Regions from separate parts of the Homo sapiens genome. Here region 2 is linked to region 1. The links are contacts of gene promoters, found by promoter capture Hi-C in human tissues and cell types (Jung and others, 2019). All regions are on one chromosome and are shown on one strand. The core of a region is centred on a gene start or on the middle of the fragment in contact, and the rest is flanking DNA. Distances in the headings are between cores, read along the strand shown. Region 1 holds the start of COL3A1 (collagen type III alpha 1 chain). Region 2 has its middle 300 kb from the start of TFPI.

The links. Contacts are between HindIII fragments. The study calls those that stand out against the background at their distance.
Region 2: a fragment that was not itself captured here is called in contact with the fragment with the promoter of COL3A1 in region 1 in 2 of the 25 tissues and cell types used here (heart left ventricle and stomach).

Annotation. Positions count from the first base shown.
Region 1 is chr2:188,971,216-188,977,277 of GRCh38, forward strand. It overlaps COL3A1 (collagen type III alpha 1 chain), which reads left to right and starts at 3,158. Exons shown (of 51, transcript NM_000090.4): 1 at 3,158-3,353. The coding sequence starts at 3,275. The region is part of intron 1 of LOC105373791 (a long non-coding RNA gene); the gene reads right to left. The HindIII fragment of the contact is 6,513 bases long and covers 1-5,178 here.
Region 2 is chr2:187,851,955-187,858,016 of GRCh38, forward strand. No RefSeq gene overlaps it. Among named protein-coding and RNA genes, the nearest start is that of TFPI, 300 kb to the left of the region's middle. The HindIII fragment of the contact is 3,926 bases long and covers 1,766-5,691 here.

The sequences.
Region 1 (6,062 bases), core at 1,908-4,407:
CTCTCTGGGAATAATAAAGAAGACCTGCATTGTATTTTACAGTTGTATTGGTAGTTCTATTATCACAAGTAGTTTTTAAATGGCTTTACAGTGATTTGAAATCTAGAAAATGTCCCTAAAAATAAAGCATCTTGCTGGCTTCAAAAAGAAAATCACACATAAAGCCGCACAACAAAGGGGAGGGGAGAGGAAAGAGAGAAACATTGAAACATTTCTGTTCCATGTGTTTTCCATGGTGGAGATAATTGATTTTCTTAGTGCTGTTGTAGAAAGCGCTGCTGGCATTCACTGGCCTACTGAGTTCATCACAGCTGTGCTTGTGCATCTCTCTCAAGCTCCACTTTCCACTGAATTGGAAAAGATTTGAATTTTTGGTTGATAATCTGCCACACCCTTGCTTTGCCTCATCTTTCCAGGCACTCTCTTTGTTAAAGGAGATCCAGATTAATCAGTGCTTTAGTTGGTGCAGGTATTTAGATTTGTGTTAAAGCTCCAAATGCAATCCAAAAAGCAAAATGACATGTTTATGTGTCCTGGTTAACATCAGTGAAGTCAGGGAAGTATGGGAAGAAATGTGTGGCTAGATAACAATGAGGACAGCAGTTCCTGGATGGCATAATAGGATTCAGAAGTGTATGCATTTCACCTAGTTCAGACCCTGTATTAAGAAATGCTTTGACCCCGTATTAGGAAATGCTTTGACAGGAGGTAGAAAAATAGGATCTGGGACACAGAATGCAAAGGATCCTAGTGCAAAACCTCCATATTCGAGGTAGTGAAGAATCGTAAATCAGAATATCTGGAGAATGAATTCTCTAGGTCTCTCCTGAAGACCTTAAAATACAACAATCCTTCCATATGCAAAACATCAGCTAATGTTTCTTAAGTGAGTGCATCAATCATGAATTTTTCTCATGAGTATAAGGCTTTTATTTGAATAGCTAAGCAAATTAAGAATTTTAGAACAATAGTAATTTTATTTATAATGCCTAAAATAAAGCATAACAAGCATTATTTTAAAAATAACATTTCTAATTTTTCACAGTGGAAAATAAATCTAATGAAGAAATTCAATAAATTTCAGCTTTTATAGACCACCTAAAACAATGAGAGAAATCTAATATAGATATATGAATTCTACGTAGATACAAAGACATCATGAGAAAAACTATGTTTCTGAATTGGTTTGAACACAGGAAATATTTTTTGTGTACAGGACAAAGATGTCTGAAAGACAGAAAGATGCATATAACAGCCTTTCCCCAGCATCTCTACTGTGATCCAGTAGAAAAGCTTATATTCATGACCATTCTCAACAGTTACTTTTCTCCCACGCCCCCAAGCAGTGACTCTCCAATCTAAAATAAAGATACACAAGAGGTTGGTCTCGTTCTAGTTTTCCTTTCCTGTCATCAAATGATGTCATCTACATTGAGATGTCTTGGTTTGTGTCCTTGTGACTGAAGATATAAGAAAGCTTGGGAGGCCGAGGCGGGCGGATCACGAGGTCAGGACATCAAGACCATCCTGACTAACACGGTGAAACCCCGTCTCTACTAAAAATACAAAAAATTAACCAGGCGTAGTGGCGGGCGCCTGTAGTCCCAGCTACTCGGGAGGCTGAGGCAGGAGAATGGCGTGAACCCGGGAGGCGGAGCTTGCCGTGAGCCGAGATTGCGCCACTGCAGTCTAGCCTGGGCGAGAGAGGGCGACCCCGTCGCAAAAAAAAAAAAAAAAAAGATGCAAGAAACAAGAAAGCAAGTTTGCCACTGTCCATGCTTACAGGATTCATGTACACCTGGGAATATACATATGACATGAGTTGAGTGAAAATTTAGTAACACAAATTAGAAGAAAGAGAAAGATGAAAATTAGTTTAAAGGAGGTAATTTACTTAAGGAGGAAAGTTTTGCATTGAGGCATAAGGAAGTGACTTCCATTAATTGGTGTGAAATGGGGAGAATTTTATGTGCACAGGCATAGAGACGGACATGTTTAGGTGAAGGTGAAGAAAATTAGTTCAAGTGACCTTGATTAGAATTGAAATGTCCACCGTAGATTATAGAGATAGATGAACTAACTATGAACTGATGATTAGGGTGTAAAGAGATATCTCCATTGCCAGATATAGCCTTATACTGTGGACAAGCATATTTTTCCTGCAGAGATTTATCAAAGACCTATAAATGGTATTTGCCCCTCTTTCAAATATGACACAAAAATTACTGCTTAGATAGATCCAGAAATACATTGGAAAGTTTTGTGGATGAGGATCTGGAAAGTATACACATAAAAGTCTAAATTAGAAATATTTATACTAATCTTTAGAGTAATGCAGAAAAAATGACCACTTTCTCTGGTACTCTTTTGCTATTCTATGTGATAAACTCTTTCTCTTCCAGTTTCCTAAAAAGTTATGTCATGAAAAGGCTGAATTTTTCTCTAGAAAAATCTGCTCTGTCTTTCCCAGGCAGCATAAAAATTGGAAATCTCACAAGAAAGCACTCTGGCTTGCTAAAGAAATTTGTGAGAAATGGAAACAGCTATAGATAAGTATCTAACTTTTAGGAAGCCATTCAAACATTGCTGAAATACTTTGTCTTTTGATATTTGCCTGAAACTTAACTTCTAGGACCCAGGGTGGGTGGATGAGTCGAAGGGGCATACGGTGGCATTTCTTTCCGTGAGTCTCTTACAGTCTCCTATTTAAATTGAGTTAGGATTACTTCTGGCAAAATCCCAACATAAAAATCTTCTAGGAAGATCAGTTCTGTAAATTAGACATACTAGATAAATGGGCATCAAGCAGTTTTTCAAAATTATGCAGTTGTTAACTTCATAAGGGGAAATAAAAATGTATGCATTTACATTGTATGTATTAAAACAAGGCAGAGCATTTCTATACGTTCCTAAGTTATACAAACATATATGTAAGAGTGAAATATGTAAAAAAACTTTTACATAAGCAGATGCATACAAACTCCAGATGTGCTCTTTTTCTTACTGTGGGTTGTGTCTTCTATAAGGGAAAAAGAAATATTTATCATTTCTTTTACTGCTGAGGGGATGGGTGCGGCTCTCATATTTCAGAAAGGGGCTGGAAAGTGAGGGAAGCCAAACTTTTTCCTATTTAAGGCCAAAGCAAAGGAATCTCAGTGGCTGAGTTTTATGACGGGCCCGGTGCTGAAGGGCAGGGAACAACTTGATGGTGCTACTTTGAACTGCTTTTCTTTTCTCCTTTTTGCACAAAGAGTCTCATGTCTGATATTTAGACATGATGAGCTTTGTGCAAAAGGGGAGCTGGCTACTTCTCGCTCTGCTTCATCCCACTATTATTTTGGCACAACAGGAAGGTGAGTAGGTACTGATTTCAAGAAACTTTATGGGATTTTTGTCTTTCTTCTCCTCACAAAGAGGGGTGTAAAGGGGAAAATCAGTTGCCTGATTCAAGATAATTTCCTCTATAAGCTCCAGATTGTGAAACGTTGAACTGACCATGGCTGTGCTTTTTACATTACTTGAAAAATAATCGCGTTATGTGTGTTTTTAAGAGTTCTGTGGTTAAGATAAGATGTTCTTGTACTAACTTGTTTTCATGTTAAAGGCACTGGAAACTTTTAAAAATGGCTTTAAAATTTTTCCCTCCTGGATTGTTAACATCTTGGAATACTTCCCCAGGCAGTCTGGAAGTTATTGGTCTCTTGCAATAATTTTATGTTCCTCTTTGTCTGCTGGATTCTTTGTAAGGTTAGAATATTGAGCATTGTTTTCTGAATAAGAATGCCTTTCAAATATCATGGATTAAGAACAGTCTAAAGGAAGATTCTACGCATTATCAGAATCATTGAATATATTTCTGTAAAATGGCTACAAGATACCTATAAACATTCTTCAAAGGGATCAAACTGCTAAAATATTTTATTATTCCTGTTTTTATTTTGTTTCAAGAATGATTGATTAATTCATCTTTTCTAGTAGCTTGATATTAAGGGACTAATATTTTCCACATATTCTACGTTTTAACCACATTCGCATTAATGAAGAAAATATTTTTTAAAATGTTTCAACAGGAGGTTTGACTTTGCTGCAAACAAGGTAAAGATACTAGTACTGTTTGACTTCAGAAAGCTGTTTTGCTATATTTTCTAATAATTGCATGTAATGTTTTTCATATTCTAATTTCCCCTAAAAACACATTTGTCTCATTATTTATGTGAAAATATTCTTTTATTTACCATAGTCATGAAAATGCTGAACAAATTGGAATACAAACTTCCATAGAAATAAATATTTAAGTGCTAAATGTAAAGATAGCTAGGAGAAATTATTAGACAATTTTTATTGCACATAACTAAACATGGTTACATTTAAACATATAGATTTTGCAAAGGACACTGCATGAAAATTTGGTTTTTGTTTGTAATATCAAATGTATTTGTTGTCCTCATAGCTAATACATGTAAATGTGTGTATGAGGGGAGGGGTAGATATACAATGAAATGTCTTCAGTTATATTCAGCCCATGGACACAAAAGAAAAGAAACACCCATTTTCCTTGTTCCCTTAATTTCCTCTCCTCCTTACCCCTCCTCTCCTTCGCTTTGCCCTCCTCCTTATCTCTCTCCACCCCTTTTGGCTCCTTTAGACTTCTCTTCACTCATCACCCCACCCCTTCCTAGGCAAGCCCATATCTACTCCTCTCTCCTCCTCTGTCTTCCCTGCCTGTTACTCCCTCCCTACTCCCCATGTGGCCTCCTTATGCCTCCATTTCTTTTTTTTAGTTCTCTCTCTCCTTGCCTCCTCACCCTTTCTTTCCCCTGAACTCTCAATCCTTCTTCCTTTCTCATTCCTCTCCCCTTTTCCTCCCTATCCTGCTCTTCCCAGGAGATGCTACAACTCACAGTCCTTTTTTAGGATACCAAATGACTACTATCCCCCACCAACCATTTATTGAAAAGACTACAAACTTAGGGGTTTTAGCTCAAAAAATTGCAACATATTTGTAGTTGCCTCGTGGTTGCAAGCTTTTTATAAGCACTGTGGCTATTTTTCTTCCCAATCCAACTTTAGTGGGGGGGTGTTTGCCACTTACAGTACCTTGACATCACATTAAGTTCTGTTTATTTCCCTCTTTCTCTTTAGATGCAAAAAATAATCAATAAGTATAAAATTTTGCTGATATGTGTTTGTGTGTTCTTAAGCTCAAAAAGAGTTGAAAGAGAACTGTTCAGCCTATTTTTTTTGTCATGAGTAAAAGTAAAGTTGAAGTGACTTAAGACAGTACATCTTATGTTCCCTGTGGGTTTTACAAGGAAATTCTGCTATTAGATAAGCTTTGGAAAAGTTACAGGAGGTATCTGAATATACAGCACACTGAGAGCTGTCATAAAGTTCTGGGGTGGGGTTTCTTATATATGCCCTCATAACTTCAGAGACGGCACAGCTCTAATGAACACTCACTTCTAGTTCACTCACAGGCATTTTCTGGATACAAACAAGTCCTCAAAAAGAATTTTGGTCGTCTTACAAATTTGTGAACATTGTATTTAATTCATGTGTTTTAATCCACCAATGGAGAAACATAGTCTGTTTTATATTTCCTGTAGATTATAAACATGCCAAGTTTTAAGTACAAAGATGCGTCACCTAGTGGCTGACAAGCCAGGTTACCATTTACATAACGAATGCCAATATTAATGTTATGTAGCTGGCTTTGGTAGTTTATAATGAGCTTTAAAAAATTCATATGCGTGAATTTTAAATGTTAACACTGCTCTCCTAAGGAAATTAGTATGTTACGGATAAATATTGCAAACACATATACTGACACGAAAACACAATGGTAACAATATTCAGAGTCTTTTTGGAAATTAGCTTAAATGTTACGGCCACTTAAAAATTCTACATATGACTATTGTTTAAATACATTTTTCATGTCTCTGATGTAGTCCTTATTTGACATAAGTATTTTATTCACTGCTTAATTGTTAGATAGATTATAGACAGCTGTTACTAAGTAATACTGCTCCATTAGGGCAGAAACAGAAACTTTATTTTAATTA
Region 2 (6,062 bases), core at 2,479-4,978, 1.1 Mb before region 1:
CTCAGGGTAGAAATATGGATGTGTGCTTATAATTAAGGATGGAAAAGTTTTAAAATATATAAATATTATGAAAATCCTGTGTAAGAGTAAAAGTTTTAGGAAAAAGAATGCATTTTTTCTGAAAACGTTGGTACTGAGTTATCATGTTGTGACAGTTTTGGTTTCATTTACTGAAATCCCTTGCTGTCTTTTTCCTGTTTGTAAAAAGTAATTTTAAAAGTTCACGTAAGACTGGCCAGTGGCCAGTCAAGCTGTTCTATTTGAAGAGGTTATTTAAGGAAATTGCCAACAAAAATTTATTTTTTATTTGTGGTCAATAGTTAAATAAAATACAAATTTCTTCCAAAGTTAGATTTTATTACCCAGAGCTGACAAAATTTCTGTCCAAACAGATGCTATGATTTTAGAATCCAGCCAAATGAGCAGATCACATAGTCCTACACTCCACCCCTGTAGGGGAATGAGGAGAGTGAGGGGAAGCGTGTCAGCGGTGCTAGGGCAAGAGCATATAAGGACATGTTACATTTGAAAAACAAATGTACTGCTCTACCCAACCTCATATTCCATGGAGGAAAATCACACCGGCATTCTCAAAACAAAGTAGAAGTCAAAAGACGTGCCACCCTGTTTCCAATGTACAACCCTGACTCTACATTAGAGTTGCCAGAGGACACCTAAAAATACCAACAGCTAGGATCCATCCTCGGATATTCTGATCAGTTTGTCCACTGTGGGGTCTGGATATTTTTTAAGGACTTTATTTAAAGAAGTTTTGGGTGCATGGCAAAGTTGAGATGAAGGTATAGAGACTTCCCATATACCCTCTCTCCCAACACATGCAAAGCTTCACCCATTATCAGCAGCCTCCACCAGAGTAATACACTTAGAATTTGATGAACTTGCATTGACACATCATTATCACCCAAAGTCCATGGTTTAAATGAGGGCTCACTCTTAGCACTGACATTGTATGGGTTTGGACAAATGCATTATGGCATGTATCCACCACCATTACAGAAAATTTTCACTGCCCTAACAATCCTCTGTTCTCTGCCTATTCATTCTTTCCTCCTTCCTAAACCCTGACAACCACTGATCATTTTACCATCTTCATATTTCTTCTTTTCCAAAATGTTATACAAGTGGAATCACATCGTATAAGTCTTTTCGGGTTGGCTTCTCTCACTTACTAATATGCATTTAAGTCTCTTCTATGTCTTTTCACGGCATGATAGCTCTTTCCAAAATGCTGAATAAAATTTCATTGTTTGGATGTTACACAGTTTGTCAACTCGCCTATTGAAGGACATCTTGGTTGCTTCCAAGTTTTGGCAATTATAAATAAGTTGCTATCAACATTCATGTGCAAGATTTTGTGTGGACATGAGATTTCAACTTCTTTGTGTAAATACAAAGGAGTGTAATTGCTGGATCATATGGTAAAAATATGTTTAGTTTCATAAGAAATTGCCAAACTGCTTTCCTAAGTAGCTGCATTATTTTGCATTCCCACCAGCAATGAATACAAATGCTGGTTAATCTACATCCTTGCCAGGATTTGTGTTGTCATGTTTTGGATTTTGGCCATTCTAATAAAGGTGTAGTTATGTCTCATTGTTGTTTCGATGTGGAACATCATTTCATATGCCTTTTTGTCACTTGCATACATTATTTGGTGAGGTGTCTATTAAAGATTTTGGCACACATTTAAGTGAGTTGTTTGCTTTTTGTTGAGTTTCAGAGTTCTTTGTATATTTTGGATAACAGTCCTTATCAGATAAGCCTTTTGCAAATATATTCTCCCTGTGTGGGTTGTCTTTTCATTCTCTTGACAGTGCCTTTGGCAGACTATAAATTTTTAATTTTAATGAAGTCCAGCTTATCAGTTCTTTCTTTCATGGATTGTGTTTTTGGTGTTAGGCATACATATTTTTTAAAAACAGCCCTAATATTTATAATCTGCAGTCAGAACTGGAAAAAAACACTTTAGAGTTTATCGGGTTTTATCTATGAGGGGGTCATGTATATGGCATTCTGCCTTTAGTCCTATTGTTTCCAGGTTTTGCAAGCCATTCTTTTTTTTTTTTTTTTTTGAAACAGAGTGTCACTCTGTCACCCAGGCTGGAGTGCAGTGGCACGATCTTGGCTCACTGCAACCTCTACCTCCTGGGTTCAAGCAATTCTCCTGCCTCTGCCTCCCAAGTAGCTGGGATTACAGGCGCCCGCCACCATGCCCAACTAATTTTTGTATTTTTAGTAGACACGGGGTTTCACCATATTGGCCAGGCTGGTCTTGATCTCCTGACCTTGTGATCTGCCAGCCTCAGTCTCCCAAAGTCCTGGGATTACAGGCGTGAGCCACCACAGCCGGCTGCAAGCCATTCTTTAATGACTTTTAGCAACCCACTGTAATGAGGTCATGTGATCAACTCCTACAACATACATTCTTCAACTTAGATGTACGAAATCTAGAACATAACTGAAAAGACACTATGGTACTAGAGCAATAACCTTAGCATGATGAAGCAAGATTACATTGGAACTCCGTATCACAGTAATTCCTCCATCCTTTTCTACCCTTTTCTACTCTTTTAGTTGGTAAATTGGTTTATATCTATTTCAGTTCTGAAATGTCACCTAAATGCATTACCATTTTGATAATCTAATGCTACTCACCTAAGAGAAGCTTCATCACACTTCCTCTGGAAAGCCTGTGTATTTTTATGGTTAGAGAATGGCCTCCAGTTTGAAGTCCCAACTCCAGAAGACTATATGTATTATCTTGGGGAAGCCGCTCTAAGTCACTGTTCACCATTACTTTATTTGCAAAATAATGCTACCTATACCTTATAGGGTTGTTGTTAATACACATCATCACTTAAAAAATGATCTGCCATTGTCCTTAGACTTCTCCTAGAGGCCTGCATCTTCTCCCAGGTTATGTCAAGGCAAAACATTTCAACATTCTCAGGATTTCTCATAACAATGTAGATTTCTCTAATCTTCCACAAGAAAAGGGAAAGCTGGAACTTGGGAGGTTATCTCTGTGCCTTATCTCTATCAGTTTTTCCAATCCTGCAAACTCTTAGGGCTAGAAGGGATTTTCCTTATGTCATGCTTGGAGTTCTCTCAACCTTTTGAGTTAAGGTTTAAGTTTGCTGTGACTGGCTGTTGAGACATTAAGAGGAACTTAAAAAAACTGACTCTGTTTTTCAACAATATCTTTCAAAATATCCCTTTGCTATAGAATCACAAATATTCTGGCATTAATTTTGAATAATAAGGCCTACTGTTAGTAAACGTCAGACACCTAACATTGACTGTTTCTTTGCATTTATTTATTTCTCAAAAATAAAAATAAAAATGAAAAAAGAAAATTGTCTCTACCATTCCAAAGAATGCAATTTTATCTTAAAGTTCTCTGAAGTAAGTAAATAAGAATAATCATATATGATTATTCTTTGACTTCTTAATAAAGGCAGCGTTGACCAATGACACAATGTTAAACATAGCTCTAAGGAAAAAGCAGTAATAAGTTCATTATAGTCCTAAAATTTCTAGAATTGGATTAGATTTATCTTGAAAAAAATTAACTGCTAAAATGTTGCCATTTTTGTAGTCTTAATGTTTACAATATTGTTTACATTAGACATAAATTACACTAATGTTTTAAACATTAAGCTTTTTATTCCACTTAGCCTGAAAAAGAGAAAAAAATTAGTGTTAGAGTCTTACTTCTGGTTCAGCTACTAATTTTGTAGTTTCCTAAGATCACCTTCTTTTTTTTTTTTTTTTTTTTTTGAGATACAGTCTTCCTCTGTCGCCAAGCTAGAGTGCAGTGGCGCAATCTTGGCTCACTGCAACCTCCGCCTCCTGAGTTCAAGTGACTCTACTGCCTCAGCCTCTTGAGTTGCTAGGACTACAGGCATGCACCACCATGCCCAGCTAATTTTTGCAATTTTTGGAAGAGATAGGGTTTCATCATGTTGGCCAGGATAGTCTCCATCTCTCGACCTCGTGATCTGCCTGCCTGGCAAAACTCCATCTCTACTAAAAATACAAAAATTAGCCAGAAGTGGTGGCAGGTGCCTGTATTCCCAGCTATTTGGGAGTCTGAGGCAGGAGAATTGCTTGAACACAGGAGATGGAGGTTGCAGTGAGCAGAGCAGCCTGGGCAACAGAGACAGACTTTGTCTCAAATAATCATCATCATAACAATAAATATATATATATATAAAATAAACTCTACTTTTAAGTTTTGAAATGCTAAGCATGTAGTAGAATGACAGTAAAATTGAAATACATATACTTAACTGAAGGCAAAGGCTATGTCTTTCTGTAGTATTTATTATTCCCCATAGCAATTAGCCATATTTTAATTATTCCAATATTAATTGTACAAATATATTCAAAATCTGTCTGGCTTTTTTGAAATCAAAATTTGAAATTAACTTAGAATAAGAAGATAATATTGTGAAAGCTATTTGTAATTTTTAGATTTTTATATTTCTGTGTCCTTACAACTGACTTTTTTTTTTGGTAATACTGTAGGTCTCTAGTAAGTTTACCTTTTTCTAATCTTTTCAGCCTCAGAGAAGGACATTTATTCATTAAGTCAACATATATTTATTAATTAATGACTACATTCAAACAGCTGTTCATTATATACCTGAGTATATAACTAAAGACACCACAAGGTCTCTGCCCTCCTAGAGCTTATATTATAGCTGAGAAAAGCAGGAAACAAACTCATCAGTATATAATATATGTATAGTTCAGATCACTCTAAAAGTCATGGTGAAAACAAAAGTGTATAAATCTAATACAGAGTTGGGGGATGGAGAGATTGATATTGTATGTAGAGTGACCAGAGAATATCTCATTGATGAGTGGCATTTAAGGAAAGACAGAAAATAAGAGAGATGGCTGTGACTTTGGGAGAAAGAAGGTTGGTTCCATGTTGCCACCACTTAGGTAACCAGCATCACCTCTGAGGCTTATCATGTCTGTTCCCCACAAAAAATCGGTAGGCAATCTTCTGACTGGCTCTGATATTGCAAACTGTCCCTACTACCACCTCTCTGTCATGAAATATCATATATAACCTAAAAGAAAATAATTTAAAATACAAAAAGACAGAAAAATTAAGGGGAAGAAGAGAATAAAGGAGAAATGAAAGAATGCAATATTGCCTAATACATGTATTCTCAGAAATAAGAGAAAAATGAAATGAAAAATACATATTTTTGTTTTTGTGTTTTGTGTTGGCGTGTGTGTGCATGTTTGCTTTGCCATATACTTCTGCTTAATCATATTAGACTCAGTATATTTCAGTTAAGTACTTTGAATCTTTACCAGTGTGAAAGAAAGAGAATGTTTTCCTAATAAAACAAAGAGAAAAGGTTGGAAAGTGCACCAAACCAAGTTTGCTCCCGTGTTGAACACTATGACTCTCCATTTATCAATATAACAACCAAAGATGGAAGTGAGTTATGTGTTCATACTTTGTAACGCTAAGGTATGGTAAGAAAGATGAAGTGACAACATTTATCCCATCTGGTGGATGAAAATATTACATAACCTTGCTTGTAAGGAAATCTCTTTTGTTTTTCTTCAAGGAGGTGAACTTTGAGACTATCCTTGGACCGCAATTTAAGCTTGAGACAAAGGAAACTGATTGTGTTATCTCTTTGTAACCCAAACACCTGTAAATCTACTTCACCAAGCTTTGACAGCATCTGAACACTTATTGATCTTAAAATGGTACAAAAACCTTTACTTGTTTGCCAGTCAACAAAGGTTAGTAAGTAGTTAATATAAATTTAATATTCTAAAGAAAATGTGCACTTCTCGTAATCTTACACTTCCTAATCTACTTCCCAGATAACCAAATCACTTTACTTTTTATTCTGGAGAGGAAGTGAGTGGGACACAGATGGTTTGACATATCATTATGCCTTTTTTGTGGGGGTAGTCTTCAGTTTCACATTTTTCTTCCGTCCTTCATTTTTATTCAATTATCTAACAAATAATTACTCTGTGCCTAACATGTACTGGCTCTG